Linked DNA regions of Homo sapiens: region 1 is linked to region 2. Evidence: promoter capture Hi-C in human tissues and cell types (Jung and others, 2019). All regions are on one chromosome and are shown on one strand. Each heading gives the region's core, a stretch centred on a gene start or on the middle of the fragment in contact. The rest is flanking DNA. Distances are from core to core; before and after follow the strand shown.

What was found. Contacts are between HindIII fragments. The study calls those that stand out against the background at their distance.
Region 1: a fragment that was not itself captured here is called in contact with the fragment with the promoter of UGT1A3 in region 2 in 2 of the 25 tissues and cell types used here (adrenal gland and hippocampus).

What each region holds. Positions count from the first base shown.
Region 1 is chr2:233,607,459-233,613,476 of GRCh38, reverse strand. It overlaps UGT1A. Among named protein-coding and RNA genes, the nearest start is that of UGT1A8, 7.2 kb to the left of the region's middle. The HindIII fragment of the contact is 6,432 bases long and covers 1-4,558 here.
Region 2 is chr2:233,726,118-233,732,718 of GRCh38, reverse strand. It overlaps UGT1A3 (UDP glucuronosyltransferase family 1 member A3), which reads right to left and starts at 3,677. Exons shown (of 5, transcript NM_019093.4): 1 at 2,726-3,677. The coding sequence starts at 3,592. All of the region lies in intron 1 of UGT1A8 (UDP glucuronosyltransferase family 1 member A8), which reads right to left. The region is part of intron 1 of UGT1A10 (UDP glucuronosyltransferase family 1 member A10); the gene reads right to left. The region is part of intron 1 of UGT1A9 (UDP glucuronosyltransferase family 1 member A9); the gene reads right to left. It also overlaps UGT1A7, UGT1A6, UGT1A5, UGT1A4 and UGT1A. The HindIII fragment of the contact is 9,204 bases long and covers 1-6,601 here.

The DNA.
Region 1 (6,018 bases), core at 93-2,592, 120 kb after region 2:
GACTTCAAACTATACTACAAGACTACAGTAACCAAAACAGCATGGTACTTGTACCCAAACAGATATATAGACCAATGGAACAGAACAGAGGCCTCAGAAATTATGCCACACATCTACAACCATCTGACCTTTGACAAACCTGACAAAAACAAGAAATGGGGAAACGATTCCCTATTTAATAAATGGTGTTGGGAAAACTGGCTAGCCATTTGTAGAAAACTGAATCTGGACCCCTTCCTTACACCTTATACAAAAATTAACTCAAGATGGATTAAAGCCTTAAACATAAGACCTAAAACCATGAAAACCCTAGAAGAAAACCTAGGCAATAACCATTCAGGACATAGGCATGGGCAAAGACTTCATAACTAAAACACCAAAAGCAATGGCAACCAAAAGCCAAAATTGACAAATGGGATCTAATTAAACCAAAGAGCTTCTGCACAGCAAAAGAAACTATCATCAGATGGAACAGGCAACTTAAAGAATTGGAGAAAAGTTTTGCAACCTATCCATCTGACAAAGGGCTAATATCCAGAATCTAAAAGGAACTTAAACCAATTTACAAGAAAAAAACAACCCCATCAAAAAGTGCGCAAAGGATATGAACAGACACTTCACAAAAGAAGACATTTATATGACCAGCAAACATATCAAAAACAGCTCATCATCACTGGTCATTAGAGAAATGCAAATCAAATCCACAATGAGATACCATCTCATGCCAGTTAGAATGGCGATCATTAAAACTCAGGAAAGAACAGATGCTGGAGAGGATGTGGAGAAATAGGAACACTTTTACACTGTTGGTAGGAGTGTAAATTAGTTCAACCATTGTGGAACACAGTGTGGCGATTCCTCAAGGATCTAGAACCAGAAATATCATTTGACACAGCAATCCCATTACTGGGTATATACCAAAGGGCTTATAAATTATTCTACTATAAAGACGCATGCACACGTGTGTTTATTGCAACACTATTCGCAACAGCAAGGATGTGGAACCAACTCAAATGCCCATCAATGATAGACTGGATAAAGAAAATGTGGCACATATACAACATGGAATACTATGCAGCCATAAAAAAGGATGAGTTCATGTCCTTTGCAGAAACATGGATGAAGCTGGAAACCATAATTCTCAGCAAACTAACACAGGAACACAAAACCAAACACCGCATGCTCTCACACATAAGTTGGAGTTGAACAATGAGAACGCATGGACACAGGGAGGGGAACATCGCACACCAGGGCCTGTCGGGGGGTGGGGGGGTCTAGGGGAGGGATAGCTTAGGAGAAACACCTAATGTAGATGTCAGGTTGATGGGTGTAGCAAACCACCATGGCACGTGTATACCTGTGTAACAATGTTCTGCACATATATCCCAGAACTTAAAGCATTTAAAAAGAAAGAAAAGTGTAAGAGCAGGAAAAAAAAAATGCATGTGGCACCAGGGCATATGTTTACCTATGTAACAAACCTGAACATCTTCCACATGTACCCCAGAAATAAAAATTAAAATTAAAAAGAAAGTATGTGCCATCTCTCCTGTCTCTCTCTTGCTCCTGCTCTTGCCATGTGACACACCAGCTCCCCATCACCTTCTGTCATGATTGTAAGCTTCCTGAGGCCTCACCAGAAGCAGATGCTAGCACTGTGTTTCGTATAAAGGCTGCAAAACTGTGAGCCAATTAAACCTTTTTTCTTTATAAATTACCCAGCCTCAGGTATCCTTTACAGCAATCCAAACAGACAAATACAGCCTTGCACAAAGAAAATCAACCGTAATATTTGTTGCACTGGACAGAATTATATTCTGCAGGTTTTCTTGATACCTTCATGGACGAGCTAAGCAGTGTGTGTCAGGCAACACCTTAAAGAACATTTAGTGAGAGATTCCACAAACAACCTCGGGGTATAATCCTTGTAGGAGTACAAGATGGCTCCTTTCAGGACACCCTAACTGGTACTAGACATTTGCTTAGTCATCTTTTCTTTTGGTGACTGGGGCACTTGCAGATGACTGTCCTTGAAAAATAAACATGACGGTCAGTGATCTACCTTCCCTGGAGGCTTACTTCAGAATAGAAATCAATGAAATGGAAAATGCGTTTAAAAAATGGCAAAATTAATTAAACCAAAGCTGGTTTGTTGAGAAAATTAATGAAACCAAAGCTGGTTTGTTGAGATCAATTAATTTGGTAAAGCTCTAGCCACCTTGATCTGAAAAAAAAAAGAGAGAAGAAATAAATTATCAATATCAGGAATGAGAGAGGTGGTATCACCATAGATTCTACAGATATTAAAATGCTAAGAGAATATCATGAACAAATTTATGCCCAAAAAATCTACAACTTAGATGAAATGGGCACATTTTGTTAAAGAGACAAACTGCTAGACTATTCACAAGAATAAATACATAACCCCAATAGAACTAACCTGTATCTGTCGAATTGAATTTGTATTTGTAATTCAAACCTTCCCACACGAAACAAAGTGAAGCTCAGATGACATCACTAATGAATCCAGCAAACATTGAAGGAACAAATAATACCAATTATTCACAAACTAGTCCCAAAAACTGAAGCCTAGGGGATTTCCTAATACATTTTATGGGACCAGCATTATCACAGTACCAAAACCAGACAAAGATATTATGAGATAAAAAAATTACAGACCTTCATGGCCTTAGATTCAAAAATTTTAAACAAAATATTATTAAGTCAAATTCTGTAATATTTTAAAATAGTTACTACATAAAAAAAATTATACACCATAACCAAATGGGGTTTATCCTAGGAATGCAAGGCTGGTTTGACATGGTACCACTATGTTCATAGCAACATAACTCACAAGAGCCCAGCCTGTAAGTGGAAACAACCCAAGCAAAAATGTGGTGTATATATACGGAATGCAATATTATTAGCCTTAGAAAGGAAGAAAATTCTGACATATGCTAACATGAATGAACTTTAAGGACATTGTGCAGAGTGAACTAAGCTAGTCACAAAACGACAAATGCTTTATGATTCTACTTATATGAGGTATCTAAAATAGTCAAATTCATAGAATAAAAGAGTTGAATGCTTGTTGACAAGGGCTGAGAGGTGGGGGGAGCAGAGAATTATTTTTTAAGGGGTCCAAAGTTTCAGTTTGGGAAGATGAAGAGAGTTCTGGAGATGAATGGTGGTGTTGGTTGCACAGCAACGTGAATGTACTCAATACTGAACTGTGCACCTAAAGTGGTGAAGATGATATATCTTATGCTATGTGTATTTCACCACAATTAATGATAAAATAAATAATTTTTATAAATCATTTAAAGTAACATACCATATAAATAAACTAAAAATGTATAAGCATATAATTACCTCAATAGGTATGGAAAAAGTGTTTGACAAAAATCCAAAATCCATTTCTGATAAAAAAAAAATTCTCAACAAACTAGGGGAAAAAAAGGGAAGTATCTTAAACTAATGAAGGGCATCTTGGAGGAACCCACAGCTAACATCATCTTTAATAGTGAAAGACTGAATGCTCACTCCTCAGATCATGCCAAGGACTGAGGGGCTGTTACCGCTTCTATTCAAGATTGTTTCTGCAGGCTACTAACCGTAACCCTAATCTAAGGAAGAGAGGCAAACACAAGGATTCAGGGCAAGAAGGGATAAACTAACTCTACTGCTTTGTGTAAATGCCATTGGATTTACAAATAGGACTGCCCGCATCTATAAACCTGCTAGCCTCCACACCTTGAAGGGAAAAGATCAATACCCACTACCAGCTTTTTTGTTGTACAAGAAAGCCTCGACAAGAACACTTCTTCTGGATTGGTTCTACATTGCTTTGTCTTGCCAGTAAGAGACTGTCTTTGAAAGTTCTTTTGATTTTGGACAATGCCCCTAGCCGCCCAGAACCCACGAGTTCAACACTGAAGGTTTCAAAGTGGTCTACCTGCCTGCAAACCCAACATCTCTAATTCAGCAACAAAAGTTGGGGGATATGGTCTTTCAAGATATGGATCTGTGAAAAATTCAAGAACGAATAGACACCACACCAGAGGAATCAGCAGAAGATGACTTGAAGGAGATTGGTGCTTTTGAATCTGTACCAGGTACTAAAGAAGCCATAGAAGAAGCAGTGCCAGTAAACAAACTGCTATCAAAACTAAGGAAGGCTGGAAGCGGTTGCTCACGCCTGTAATCCCAGCACTTTGGGAGGCCGAGGCCGGCGGATCACAAGGTCAGGAGATCGAGACCATGGTGAAACCCCGTCTCTACTAAAAATACAAAAAAAATTAGCCGGGCGCAGTGGCGGGCGCCTGTAGTCCCAGCTACTCGGGAGGCTGGGCCAGAGAATGGCATGAAGCCAGGAGGCGGAACTTGCAGTGAGCCGAGACTGCGCCACTGCACTCCAGCCTGGGCGACAGAGCAAGACTCCATCTCAAAAAAAAAAAAAAAAAAAAAAAAACCAAGGAAAGTCTGAAAAACTGTCACAGGCTAGAGGAGATCAAACAAATGTGATGAGCAAATGTCATGTGGTATCCTGGATGGGATCCCAGAAAAGAACAAGGACATTAGGTGAAAATTAATGACATCTGAAGAAAACATAGACCTTAGTTCATCATAATATGTCAGTGTTGGTTAATGAGTTGTGATAAATGTGCATAGTAATCCAAGATTTATCAATAGGGGAAACTGGCAAAGGATATATGGGAATTCTCAGTGCTGTTTTTTGCACCGTTGCTTTAAATCTAAATTTATTGTAAAATAAAAAGTCTATTTTTAAAAAGACATCTATGTTTTTTCATGAGCAAAGATTTCAAAAGACAGTAACCAAAGAAGGTACACAGACGGCAAACAGGCACATGTAAGGATGTTCAACATAATTAATGATTAGGGAAATCAAACTAAAACTGAGGTTTAATCCATATCCCATTAAAATAGTTGCAATGAAAAAGACTGACCATATCAGATGATATAGCTGAGTTATCTGTCCCTCCCAAATCAAGTGTTGAAATTTGATCTCTAATGTTGAAAGTGGGGCTTAGTGGGAGGTGTTTGGGTGGATCCCTGATGAATGACCTAGTGCCCCCTCCCAGTAAGGAGTGAACTTCCCATCTATTCATTTCAGCAAGACCTGATTATTAAAAAGAGCCTGGCACCTGCCTCCTTTTTCTCTTGCTTCTCTCTAGCCATGTGATCAGCACCCTCCACCCTCACCTTCTGCCATGAGTGGCAGCAGCCTGAGTCTCTCGCCAGATGTGGGTGCTGGTGTCATACTTCTTGTACCCTGAATGAACCACAAGCCAAATAAACATGTATTCTTCCTAAATTAACCAACCTCAGGTATTCCTTTATCGCAATGCAAACGGACTAAGACATCCAGTGTTGGTGAGTGTGAACAGCTGGACCTCTCATATGCTTGTGGTGGGAGGGCACCTTGGTCTGGCCGCTTGTAAATGTTGTCTGGCAAATTCTCAAAAAGGTAACCATACACCTACCATAAGTCACAGCTATTCCACTGTTGGGTATTTATCCATAAGAATAAAATACTTCCTGTATTGTGTGTATTGTTTAATTTTCTGTATATTATGATATTTTCACATCTTAAAAATCCCTATCTGGTAGGGATGCAGTGCACCTCCCTGGGTCAGCCAATTATTACAGATAGCAAAAGGCCTGCCCTTAGAGCTCAGAGCCCACTGAAATTATTCAAACCAACCAATGCTAAACTGTTTCTCCTGCCCTATCTTGCCTTTCCTGCAGAAACTCCAGTAGAGCTATGGTCTAGCCTCTACCCTCATTCCTATTGCTTCTGCCTCCTGTATTTCAAGTCAAAAAGTGTACAAGGTACTACTTTGCCACAGCCACTACTTCCATTCTATAGCAGTCAGGGTTCAATGAGAGAAGTAAAGCTGCTGGGGATCCACATGATGAAGAATTCATCAGAGGCTACGAATATGGAAATATAGTAATGTAAAGAAAGTATTAAAGAGTGTTTACACAGTAATGTGC
Region 2 (6,601 bases), core at 2,428-4,927:
TACTACAAGGCTACAGTAACAAAACAGCATGGGTGCTGGTACCAAAACAGATATATAGACCAATGGAGCAGAACAGTGGTCTCAGAAATAACACCACACATCTACAACCATTTGATCTTTGACAAACCTGACAAAAACAAGCAATGGGGAAAGGATTCCTTATTTAATAAATGGTGCTGGGAAAACTGGCCATATGTAGAAAGCTGGAACAGGATCCCTTCCTTACGCCTTATACAAAAATTAATTCCAGATGGATTAAAGACTCAAATGTTAGACCTAAAACCATAAAAATCCTAGAAGAAAACCTAGGCAATATCATTTAGGCATAGGCATGGCCTAGAAGACATAGGCATGGGCCAGGACTTCATGACTAAAACACCAAAAGCAATGGCAACAAAAGCCAAAATAGACAAATGGGATCTAATTAAACTAAAGAGCTTCTCCACAGCAAAAGAAACTACCATCAGAGTGAACAGGCAACCTACAGAATGGGAGAAAATTTTTGCAATCTACCCATCTGACAAAGGGCTAATATCCAGAATCTACAAAGAACTCAAACAAATTTACAAGAAAAAAAACAAACAAACAACCTCATCAAAAAGTGGGCAAAGGATATGAACAGACACTTCTCAAAAGAAGACATTTATGCAGCCAACAGACACATGAATAAATGCTCATCATCACTGGTCATCAGAGAAATGCAAATCAAAACCACAATGAGATACCATCTCACGCCAGTTAGAATGGTGACCATTAAAAAGTCAGGAAACAACAGATGTTGGAGAGGATGTGGAGAAATAGGAACACTTTTACACCATTGGTGGGAGTGTAAATTAGTTCAACCATTGTGGAAGACAGTGTGGCGATTCCTCAAGGACCTAGAACTAGAAATACCATTTGACACAGCCATACCATTACTGGGTATATACCCAAACGATTATAAATGATACTACTCTAAGGACACATGCACACGTATGTTTATTGTGGCACTATTCACAATAGCAAAGACCTGGAACCAATCCAAATGTCCATCAATGATAGACTGGATTAAGAAAATGTGGCACATATACACCATGGAATACTATGCAGCCATAAAAAAGGATGAGTTCATGTCCTTTGCAGGGAGATGGACAAAGCTGTAAACCATCATTCTCAGCAAACTATCACATGGACAGAAAACCAAACACCGCATGTTCTCACTCATAGGTGGGAACTGAACAGCAAGAACACTGGACACAGGCCAGGGAACATCACACGCCAGGGCCTGTTGTGGGGTGGGGGACTGGGGGAGGGATGGCATTAGGAAAAATACCTAATGTAAATGACGAGTTGGTGGGTGCAGGAAACCAACATGGCACATGTATACCTATGTATCAAACCTGCAATTTGTGCACATGTACCCTAGAACTTAAAGTATAATAAAAAAAAAAAAAAGAAAGAAAAACTGGAAGGGCAACAGTCACTATTTAAATGCCATCCCACTTTTCAACATTTTTACAAATCTAAATAAACACGTATTTTATAATTGAATAATTACATTGCATAAAAAAATCATGTCGTTTGATCAAAAAGAAAAATGAAGCTTAGAGTCTTTTGCAATAATACCTACATTTATAAAAAAGGCACAGAAATAAGAATACAAAAGGATCTAAATCATGGAAGTTCATACACATTCGGTGAATATGACATAAAAAGGCTGATTCTCTCACGATGTACATGGCACAGCAAGGAATAAGAAACAATATTCAGGTCCCAGAGTACCATTTCAACGAAACCCAAATATTCTGGATTAATGAAAGCTGCCTCTGAAATTTTTGGTAAAGGAGTAGATCCCACTATAGAAACCTGGAGTGCAGTAGGGTGGGTTTGGTGATGTGATGAGCCTCTCCTGAGAAATGCTTCCCTTCTTGGACGCATGTCCATTCATCACTGTCCCCAGCTTCACTGGGCTTATAGATTCACAGTCTTATCTCCTCCCTAGCCCCTTCCGCCATTTCTTGATAATTTCAGCATTCCAAGTAGAAGAATCATTTGAGATGCAACCATTACTTTGCCTTCCGAACTCTGAGATGTCCCCACATCATGCACCAGACCCCAAATCCTGACCAGAAAATCTCTTGACAGCACAGATCCCTGTCTGGAAACTGAACTTCGTGTGTCATTCTCTAATCACAGACATCCATCCCAACTTCATTGCCCCACTTCCACTGAGTCAACCTCTCTGACACTTCTATTTCATGTGAGTGCCTAGGTCTCCTGTGGTCACCTGTCTATCATTTGCAAGATGGGACAACTAAAAATTATCATGTCAACAATTGTAATTTACTGTTGCATCATCTTTCCCCTGAAAATCATGCTAGCAAAAAATCCAGGATGGATCAGTTCCAAACGTAGTGTCCCTGTTCCTGCCAAGCTGAAGGACATGCACAACCATGAAGATGGTGCCTTTACAAACCAACAGTCTCTATGAGTCACACCAGTCCTTGTCCATCCTTTTACAAACATTCGTGTCTACTTCCTCTTCCTCTCAGTGACCATTTAAAACCTGAAATACGCTACTAGAGACCCCTTAACAGTTTATCTCACTGAAGGCTATTATGACAAGGAGAAGCAGAAATGAAATATTTGGAAAGATAAGTAAATATGGAAGCAATTTTAAATAAATACATTTTTTTAAAAAGTGTTTTGCCTGGAACATTGATTGGATGAAGGCACCAATACAGACCTGAGATAGTGGCTTCCTGTTGGCACAGTTGATGCCCCCAATGAAGACCATGTTGGGCATGATTGGCCTGGGGTAGTCCATCACAAAGTCCCCTCGGAACAGCCACACAGATGCATGACTGAGAATATCCACCACTGACACCTCTCTCTGAAAAAGCTCAGAGGCAAGGCTTGCATAAGGAGCAGAAAAAGCATGGCAAATGTAGGACAGGGCCAGAGGGTAGAGCATGTTCTTGACCCTTTGCATGAATGTCATGTGGTCTGAATTGGTTGTTAGTAATCTAGGAATATAGGAGGAAGGGTTTGGACACTGTGTGCCCTTAAAGTCTAAATCACATGGAATGTTCCTCAAAAAAAACACAGTAGGAATCGACAGGTACTTAGCCAGCACTGCCGCGCAGAGGTTAACGGGGTCTGTTAAAACCACATCAAAGGAAGTAGCATTCAGGTGCCTGATCAGGGCCTCATTATGTAGTAGCTCCACACAAGACCTATGATAGACCAAAGACATATTGTTCAACATTGCCATACTTCTGAAAAATTTCTTCAGAAAATGTTCTGTTTCAAAGTACAGTTGAGTGTGGCCCAGCACATGGCGATCAAATTCATCCTGGGTCCACGAAATGGCATAGGTTGTCAGGGTGAAAAAGTTCTCTTCTTTGATGTGCATATTCACCTCTGGGGTGAGGACCACTGCCTGGTGGCCTCTGGCATGGAGCTCCCGCAAGACCTCCCGCATGCTGAGCCAGTGGCTGCCATCAATGGGCACCACCAACACCTTTCCACTCTCAGCCCAGGGCTGGACACTGAGGAGAAGCAGCAGTCCTGTGGCCAGCCACGGCAGGGGAACCTGGAGTCCTGTGGCCATCTCAGCAGAAGACACGGACAGCTGACTGTCCACCCCACGCTGTGCCTGCTACATTTGCTTTCTTCATCTTAATTACCTTGTCACTGAGCCACTTAGCAAATCAACGTGTAATTGGAAGACAGAGTGCCCTCCTCTAGTTAATTATTAACCATTAATCTATCACTGTTTTTCACTGTGGGCCCCACCCTGGAAAAGACCGATCATGACTATCTTGAAAAACACGTCTGACCCTGTGCTCACTCTGGGGAACATCCAAGTTCAAGCTCTTGTTTCTCATCCAATTCCCAACACAAGGCTGTGAACACCCATTTCATGTCACTGTCTCCTACTTCTCTGTTAACCATGTTTATCAGGCAGCAGCTGAGGTCTGAGGAGTCACCATTGCCCTAGCCCCCAGTCATATGCTCTCTGCTGGATGTGACCCTATTTGCTAACCCTTGAAACTTTCTTCTCATGTATGAGTAACGCAGCGCATCCAAAAACCATACAACATTGCTAAGCCAGCTTTCTCTGAACAGCGTGGAGGCTGGCTATGTGGTTTTGGTCGTTTTTCGCACCAGGATATTTCTTGTAAGGATCAGAGAGGACTCTCTCTGAAGTGGCTGTCAATATAGAAAAAGCTGCAGGGAGGCTGAGCTCAAGATGTGATGATCAGATTCTTGGGAAGACTTTGTTGAGGATTCTCCATATACACCATGGAAGAAGAGGTGCTGCTATCTAAAGCACACATGGGCAAGACAACCCTAGCAAAGACCCATGGTGGGTTCAGGGAGCTCCTGCTCACCAAGGGACTGGGGGAGCTGGAGCCTGGCCTCAGATCTTGCACAGTCTGAATTCCTCTTCTGAATGCCGAAGGCTCCAGTCTTTATTTCAGTCATCCAGGCCTTTATTTCATCCTGAAGATTATGGTCAGGCTCTTCTCCAAGTCAATCCAGCACCAAGTTCTGATAAGAATGGTTCCTCCAGAACAGAATGGGCTGCACAATTTGTGGGGGCCCTAGTCCAAATTTCAAGATGGAGAATTAAATATGTGCCTTTCTAAAGGAGAGACCCTGAGCACTCACAAGGGCCTCAAGCCCAATGAGGCTTATCCTACTCCAGAAAGTCACTCCCACATGTGCTGTGCTCACAAGATTGCTGATGCCACCTTGTCCTGGTCACCTCAGGATGATGTGGGCAGGCTGTCTGGGGTGTGCACTTTCTATCTCACTGCCCCTGTGTCTTCTTGCCTGGCCGTGTCTGCCATTGCTGGTGAGGCTGAGGCTTCCCTTAGGGAGGAAATTACTCCACATTGATAACAGATTCCACCTTTGGACAGAACCCATGGGACAGGCAGTGAATGGAAGCGTCTACTGGGGGACACCCAGCTCAAGGGCAGCACACGCAGGATGGCACAGAAAAGGAAGGTCTGCAAGGGCTTTGGGAACTGTCCAGTAGAGGATGATTCCTGGGAATTTGTAAGGACATAGAGCACTAGAAAGGGATTCTCAGCTGTGGGTGCAACCTCTCAGCCTCTGAACTATTCCTCCAACCCCCTTAAAACTATATGCTTCCTAAGCACCCTCATGATGAGCCCAGGTGACGGGTGGAACACGCCTGGTAGTGTGCTCTTCCCACATTCATGGGCTCCCATGTTCTACCTCCAAGTAGTAGTGTTTTATTTAGACAGTGAAGTCATCTGATTTCTTGTCACATGTCTGGGACTCCCAGACCCTGAGGAGGCCCATGTATCTTGGAAGACGGTGGTACTCCAGAGACCTAGGGGCCCTAAGGATAGCAGAACTATGGGGAGGGAGGAGCTCCTGGTGCCTGGGAAACAGAAGGAGCTGCCCAAGTCATCAGCTTCCAGGGTCTGGAGATGAGGAGGGGTCTGGGCTGCACAGATAGACTTGGAGCCATCCGCATATGTGGAAGCCATGGGTGTCAGTGAGGTCACCCCAGCAAAGTCCAGAGACAGAAAAAAGCATCCTGAAAGACTGACCTGTGTGGTCTTGTTCCCCTCTGCCAATCTCACAGACCTAAACACACAAACTGGAATTCTTTAATGTTTGTAAGAGAACACAGAAACTAATCTTCACATCTTGGGGTAAAGATTCCTTAGGGTACAAAAACAACAAATGATAAAACTTTGCTAGAAAGAACCTCATCAAAATCTAAAACTTTTGCTCTTTGAAAGGTATTGTTTTTTAAAAATGAAAAAAGGAAGATCAGGAAAAAAGGAGATAATTGAATGGTAAGCTGATAGCTCTGAAGCCTGGAGAATAGAAGACTATGGAGAAAAGGAACAAAAATTAAATTTAAATGGTCGAATAGAGGAAAACCTCCAAGCCTTGAATAAGATGTGGGTTTCACTTTAAGCTTAGTGTCTGTGGTAGGCAGAATCACAGCCCCACAAAAGTATCTACATTGTACTTCCTCAAACCTGGGAATATGTTCCGTTACAGGTGGAAGAGACTTCACAGATATGATTAAATTAAGAGTTTTAAGATGGGGAGATTGTCCTGGGTATCTGGGCAGGACAGTGTAATCACAAGGGCTCTTACAAGTGAAGGAGACAGGCGTAAGAGTGGGAGACTTGAAGACGCTGCACTGCATCTCCCTAAAAGTGGAAAAGTACCATGAAATTCCAAAATTAATAAGGAAAAAGGAAATTTCTGTTAAAGAAATGAGCTTACATTCAGTGGAAAGAATAAGATTAAGAGTGGACAGAATCAGAATGCTGACATCAAAAGACTATGAGATGGAAGCAATTTTGGTTTTTGTTGTGTTTTAAATAAATAAATCAAAAAACCACAGGTGCTGAAACTCCTGAGCTCAATGATCCTCCCACCTGAGCCTCCCAAGTACCTGGGACCATAGGCGCATGCCACTGCACCCAGCTTTTCATATTGGAGTTTTAAAAAATGTTTTCTAAACTTTTTAAACAAGATTTCCATATGCCAAAGAAATTTTTATTTTTTTGAAATGGGGCCTCACTCTGTCACTCGGGCTGGAGTGAGGTGGTGTGAA